2 separate regions of the Homo sapiens genome follow, and region 2 is linked to region 1. The links are contacts of gene promoters, found by promoter capture Hi-C in human tissues and cell types (Jung and others, 2019). All regions are on one chromosome and are shown on one strand. Each heading gives the region's core, a stretch centred on a gene start or on the middle of the fragment in contact. The rest is flanking DNA. Distances are from core to core; before and after follow the strand shown. Region 1 holds the start of CYP2R1 (cytochrome P450 family 2 subfamily R member 1). Region 2 has its middle 28 kb from the start of CALCB.

The links. The method cuts DNA at HindIII sites, captures the fragments that hold promoters and counts their contacts. A contact is called where the count stands out against the background at its distance.
Region 2: a fragment that was not itself captured here is called in contact with the fragment with the promoter of CYP2R1 in region 1 in 1 of the 25 tissues and cell types used here (IMR-90 fibroblasts).

The regions. Positions count from the first base shown.
Region 1 is chr11:14,890,645-14,894,213 of GRCh38, forward strand. It overlaps CYP2R1 (cytochrome P450 family 2 subfamily R member 1), which reads right to left and starts at 1,587. Exons shown (of 5, transcript NM_024514.5): 1 at 1,337-1,587. The coding sequence starts at 1,561. It also overlaps a transcript of PDE3B not described here. RefSeq lists a silencer at 1,095-1,334. The HindIII fragment of the contact is 8,315 bases long and covers 325-3,569 here.
Region 2 is chr11:15,044,159-15,047,727 of GRCh38, forward strand. No RefSeq gene overlaps it. Among named protein-coding and RNA genes, the nearest start is that of CALCB, 28 kb to the right of the region's middle. The HindIII fragment of the contact is 5,872 bases long and covers 1-3,569 here.

The sequences.
Region 1 (3,569 bases), core at 337-2,836:
CACGCCATTCTCCTGCCTCAGCCTCCCGAATAGCTGGGACTACAGGTGCCCGCCACCACGCCCGGCTAATTTTTTGTATTCTTTTAGTAGAGATGGGGTTTCACCGTGTTAGCCACGACGGTCTCGATCTCCTGATTTCGTGATCCGCCCGCCTCGGCCTCCTAAAGTGCTGGGATTATAGGCGTGAGCCACCGCGCCCGGGCACCTAGACCAATCCTTGTAAAAATTGGTTTAAGTAAGGATTTAAGGTCAAACCTGAAATACCACAGTTGCCAAACATCCCTGTACTTTTCCTTCAAAACACTGACCACAGCCTGTGGCCGATAATGAGATTAGTTTTCTCTCTCCCACTCATCTGCCAACTCCTTAAAAGGCTGTATCTGCCTTCTTCACCGCTAGCGTCAGGCCTGTAGTTGCATATAAATAAGTGTAATTCAAAACAAAACAGGTGAGCTCTGTCCCAGGACCCGTGGAAACTCCTGCCCCCTCCGGACGTCGGGACACCCACACACAAGCGGTGGTCGCCTTTTCCGCTGCCAGTCACAGGGCATTTCCGTGCTGCTTTCCCCTCCGCAGAATGAGGAGGAGCGAAGTACCGACCTCACCGGCTGGTTATGAGTTTTAAATGAGTCACCAAGTTGGCAGTGACAGTGGCACACAGAAGGCGCCTTTTAAGTATCTGCTAAGGTGCCGTTCCCAGCCAGTCAGAACGGCATTACCATCTGCGCTGTAGGACCCCCGCAGCGGATTTTAGTCATCAATTCATTCACGCGTTCACAATCGTTTCCCAGGGCCCGCTTCTCAGTCAGGGGCGTTCCCCTGCATTCTCCATTCTCACAGCAAACGCCTACACCAGTCGTTCGTCGACTGCAGACACCGAAGAACCTGCTATTAACCATCTAGAACTCAGAACGCCTTGATTTTCCGACAAGCCGCGTGCAGCTTCCACAGAGCTGCGAGGCCGACTCGCAAGACGCCCGCACCTGAGGGCATGCGTCCACCCTGGACCTGAAGTGGCGGCGCGGCTGGCGAGCCAAACGGCGCAGGCGCAGGAGCAAGAGCTCGAGCGGTAGCGGGAAAATCAGGACTGGATCGCCTCGGAGCCTCGGCCCGGAGTGGGTCACCGGCAGGGGCGGGGCTCCCCCTGCAAGGGGGCACGGCGTCGAGGACTTCTCCCTTCCAGACCCGGGAAGCGGGTGTCCCTCAAAGGGCAGCCGGCACACGGAGAGGTCCCGACTAGTCGGCCCAGGGGCGGCCATAAGTCCAACCAGGAAGGCCCTGGCCAGCCCGGGCCAGCCTGGCGGCCCTCCCTGCCCGGGGCCCGTCGGGGCTGTACCTCTCCGTACACCTGGCTCTGCTTTCTCATGTAGACATGGGGAAGCTCGGATGAGGCTGCCAGGGAATAGATGTTGCCGATAAATGGCAGCCCCGGCGGCCCCGGGGGGAAGCCCATCGGCCGCCTCTGCTTCAGCAGCTGGCGGACCCCTAGCGCGAAGAGCAGCAGGAAGAGCGCGCCGCCGAGCGCCGCCGCGCCCTCTTCAGCTCTCCAAAGCTTCCACATCGGCCCGAGCTGGAGGTGCGAACTCCACAGCAGCCCTGAGACCCAGGCACTCCCTCCAGCCCTGCCATACTCCCATTGGCAGGATACCCTCAGGTCCCGCCCTAGCTCCGTGGCCATTGGCTGACTGAGTGAGCGCTCAGGCCCCTTCGGGACAACTACCTTCTAGTTTTGCGCGGCTGAGAGTGGACTTTGCGGAGCGGGTGGCCGGTGCTACCCTTTGGAGGTGGCGCGGCTCTAGGCGGAGCAATGAGCCAGGAGTCCGTTTTCTAGAATGTTGACACAAGGGCATTGACGAGGTGTCAGGACGGCCTCACTCACTGGGCTAGGCGGATCCTGCCTCTCTGGGGCCAGACCTTTCTTAAAGTGTCTTTTTAAGTACCAGGTCTGCTTATTTCATTTCACACTAGGAAAACTGGAGAGATGATCAACACTGCAGTCTTTAGCTGAACCTGATACTTTTCAGAATTTCCAGTAGAAAATTGACCCATCAGTAGTAAAAGAAAGTAATTTTACTGTTTTGTCCTGTTTTACTATTTTTCTCCTGTTAATGTATTTTTGTGTGTGATCTTTTAATAATTGTGATGATTGAGCAGTTTATGTGATTAACTCAGTTTACCTATATTTGACCCCTCTCTGGTCTTTCCAAACTGATTACTTATTGGCAATCACGGGACTCTTGTCTGCACTTGTTCACGGAGAGTATTTACTATTCAAGATTTCTGCCTCCACTGCCTGGAATTAAGCAACTGATTTCATATTATTCTTGCTAATTGTTTTTATTCCTGTTTTCTATTGGGCAGTTCCTTGCAATACAGGACTTACTGGGTTTGGGACTCTTCTAACAGCTGCCCTCTAATTGTGATTTAGCAGTGGCATGAGTTTTATGGTCCTCATTAGCTTACGACTCATTCACACAACAAATATTTATTGAATGTCTACTATGTTCCCATGTCCTAAGCAATGGAGATACATAGGTGAATAAGAGCAACAAAGTCCTTTCTATAACTTACATTCTTATGAGAGGGAAGAGCAATGACATGGAAATACAATAATTTTCAATAATCAGAAGCAAACAAAAAGTGCGTTATAGAAAACGCCTGGTGGTTGGGGAGATACTTTAGCAGGCAAGGGCTGTCAAGGAAAGTCTTATTAGGAAGATGACATTGGAGCTGAGATCAACTGCTAAAGAAGTGTATTTGTTTCCTACTACTGTTGTAATAAATTACCACCAATCTGATGGCTTAAAACCACACAAATTTATTTTCTTACAATTCTTGAGGTGAGAAGTCCAAAATGAGTCTTCCAGGGCTGACAGAGAGGTGTTAGTGGGGCTTCATTCTTTCTAGAGACTGTAGGAGAGATTCTATTTCCTTGTCTTTTTCAGCTTCTAGAGGCTGCCCACATTCCTTGGCTTTCGTCCCCATTCCTTCCTCTTCAAGGCCATTAATGTCAGTTTGAATCCTTCCAACATCGCTGTCTCTCTGATTATCTCTCTTCTACTTCCTTCTTCCACTTATAAGGATCGTTGTGATTATATTGGGCCCACCTGGATAATCCCAACTCAAAGATCAGCTGATTAGCCCTTTAATTCCATCTGCAACCTTAATTCTTCTTGCCATGAAACCTAACATATTCACAGTTCTAGGGATTAGTATGTGGACCTATTGGGGGAGGGGAGCATTATTCTGCCTACTATAGAAGAGAAATTTGAGGCAGATATGGGGGAAAATATTCCAAACAGAGGAAATATCAAGGGCAAAGGCTTCATATACTAAGCAAACCTTGTCCTCTGAGAGTGTTTCCAATTTCTCTCCATCTCCCACGCAAGGACACTGCGGAAGTCAGCAAGTTAGTCAGGTCTTTGAGTTTTTCTGTTTAACTGGCTTGTGACTATCCCCAGGGGCTGAAGTTACCCCCACAGGTATGTGTCACAGTATCTGCAGCCACAGAATATCTACCTACTGCCTATTACAAATGCCTATTAAGAGATACCTTAAAATTCTTATTA
Region 2 (3,569 bases), core at 769-3,268, 150 kb after region 1:
AGACTCTGCAAAGTGCCTGGCACATTTTTGGGCATAAATAAATATTTGTGCAACAGACAAAACTTGTTGTGGAATCATAGAAACGATAATCTCACATTTCAGTTGTCACACATTTCCCACAAATTTATCTATGGCCTGGTCTTTTTCATAAATTTCCATAGAGTGAGTGATTTATTAGGTGAAGCCCCTGAGAGTGGTGAGCTCAAAGAGGCTTTCAGGAAATACTTCCACCACTGGAATTTTAGTAGCCTGCTCCTTTTTCCAAATCCTATTTAGTCAGGGTTAAATATGCTGGACCATCAATCTGAATATAAATACATACTTATTTTTTAAAACCTCAGAGACAAATTACAAATTATGACCTATAAATGAACCCAGGGCATTTCTGCTTCTTCTTGGAAGATTTCCAAGATGCCATTAAAGAGACTTGCAGTTGCTTATTAGTATATTTAAGCACTACCCTCTCCAGACTCACTATGCCAAGGAATAGTGGTTAAGAATTGATCTGCTTGTGGCCAGATGGGCCAGCAAAAAGTATAGCAAAAATCACTTAGGGAAGGTAGATATAACAATGTGTGTGATCTTATTGCAGATGGCATTTATCTTAGTCTGCTTGGGCTTCATAGCAAAACACCATACACTGGGTGGCTTAAACAGTAAACAATTTATTTCTCTGGTCCCTGAGGCTAGAAGTCCAAGACCAAGATGCAAGCAAGGTAGATTTCATTTTGATGCCTCTTCTCTGAGTGGGTGCCATCTCATCGTGTGCTCACATGACCTCTTCTTTGTGTGAAAGAGAAGAGAGAGAGCTCTGGTGTCTCTTCTTCTTACAAGTATACTTATAAGAAGTATACTTCTCATACTTAAGAACTTACAGACTTCTTATGGTATGCATCATGGGGGCCCCACCCTCATGACCTCACCTAAACCCAGCTATCTCCAACGGCCCTACCTTCAAATGCTACCACATTGAGGGTTAGGGCTTCAACATATGAATCTCGGGGGGACACAAACATTCAGTCCACAACAGCATTTATGAGTGTCAAAAGATGTGGGGAAATATGGCCACAATCCAAAAGACTCATAACCTCTTCAATCTGACTGTTCATCCCTCCAATGCAAAACTAACTGATTATTGTATTAAGTCATCATTCCCTTTTCCCCAACACACCTCAGCAATTTTAAAACCAGTTCTACCTTGCACCCAGAGAATTATTTTAGAATTTACCATGTCACACAATTACTGCCTACTCATCACTAAATATTGTGACTTTGACAATACTACCCTTTTTTGAGGGGGAAGAGAACATAATATTTGTAATAAATGAATATTTGTATAAATAAACAAATTTTGAAAGCTGTTTGAAGTTGAGTTTTGTAGAATTATCCTACATGAAGTCTATAAGAAGGAAAACTAGAAGATAAGAATTTATCACTGTCAGTTTAGTATTATCCCAGGGAAACAAAGATTATCTATCAGAGGGTTCTGATCCTCTTTTGTGGGTAGGATCTTACCAGCCTTTGTTAGTGATGAGATAAAATATCCCTGTTGGCTATCAACTTTCTTGTACCTTATTTTTTCCTGTTCACTAAGAAAGATCCTGATGACTAATTTGGCTTCTCAGGTATCTTGATAGGAGGAAGAGTAAGCTCCAAAAAGTGGCATAAATTCTGGTCCTTGGAAAGAGGAAGGCATACATTGTAAACCTTACATACCTCAGGTTTTGGTGAGTTCAATTTATGAGAGTCAGTTCTCCAAGTCTGGTCAACCCTGGTGGACTGAAAAAAAAATGAGTTTCTAGACTTCAAAGCATCGAACAAAAGCCCAGTAAACAGACCAGAGCAAGATATTCAGCTCAGTGAGAACTTGCTTGAATTGCCAGCCAGTGTATCTTTGTCTCATGTCTTCTTGCTTGAACAAATCTGAATGGTCATACAGAGTGGTCATGTCAGTTGCCACCTGCCAGCTGTTGTGTCATCTTCACTGACACAGAAAACTAACTCCCCTCGCCATCCCCACACAACAGCTCTACCCCATGAATAGAATACTTGGCAGCATACACAGCAACTATGCCAGAATGCTGCAGACATAAAATAGAATCATATTTTCAGGATCTCTGATAATTTCTTCATATATAACATGCCACCTCCTCAGAGTCCACCACCCCTTAAAACAGCCTAGTTTTAAAGGGACACTTTTTATGCTAAGAATCAGTGAAGGGTTTTAGAAGCATTTAAAAAAATTGAGTACAATTGTGTATTCTTCCTTTGAGTGGAAGGTTATATATGGGTACAGTTACAACACCCAGCCCAGCCAGAACTGTATCTCTGAGCACAGTTGATAGTATCTGAAGTTAGAAACTGTGTTCTGAAGGAAGATGAGCTAAAAACTTTGAGGCGGCTGGGCACAGTGGCTCATGCCTGTAATCCCAGCACTTTGGGAGGCCGGGACGGGCAAATCACCTGAGGTCAGGAGTTTGAGACCAGTCTGGCCAACATGGCGAAACCCCGTCTCTACTAAAAATACAAAAATTCGGTGGGTGTGGTGGCAGGCACCTGTAATCCCAGCTACTAGGGAGGCTGAGGCAGGAGAATCGCTTGAGCCTGGGAGGCAGAGGTTGCAGTGAGCTGAGATTGCGTCACTGCACTCCAGATGGGGGGACAGAGTGAGACTCCATCTCAAAACAAAACAAAATAAATAAATAAATAAATAAATAAATAAATAAATAATAAAAAATAAAAACTTTGAGGCAAGTTAAGTAGAAGGCATTTTTACTCATTCACATTGCAGACTAAGGCATCCTGGTAGTTTTCTGTCCACTAACCAATTTTTTAATACAGATATTCTGGATTCACTCTTTTTTCTGGGTCTTTCTGGATTTTTCCCTATTCTCCAAACAGAATCTTGCTGTCAGTATAGTCTCTGTAATTCTTCAGGGTACAAGTTCCATTGAACTGCATGCATTAACACTATGCTTTAACTTTAAACAGACCTTTGTCCTTAGAGCAGCTGTCTCTATGAATATTTCATCAGTGAATGTTTACTGGTAACATTTTAAATTCTCCTTTATTTTAAACAACTTCCCTGGATCTCTTTGTTTTTTTTTTTTAATTAGAGTTGTCTAATTTTTTCTTAAATCTCTTACTGGAGACCATATTCTAGATATCCTAGGAATATATAGGTATAACAAGCAGAGGCTTTCTTTAAGTAGAGATATCAGTGATGATCTGTCTGTGTATTGCTCACATAAAATATCTCCACAAAAAATAATAATTCTTCTGATAATGGAATAGTGAAGTGTATAAGGCACACAAAGATACAATTCAAGAATAAATCTTCCAAAGAGACAAAAATAGAGGTGCCTCGAGTATCTTTAAATATCAGGATTTTGACTGAAGCCACAGGCCTCAAGTTGCTCACTAAACTATGCCTAAAATGTCAAGCTGGACTAAAAAGTCCAGTCTGGTGCTAAGACTATCAGTTATGCAATGATAAATATTCCTTCCTTTGAGAACCAAGGTGTCCTCTGAGTCCTAACATGTATATGCTAAATGAGCTATTCAATAGA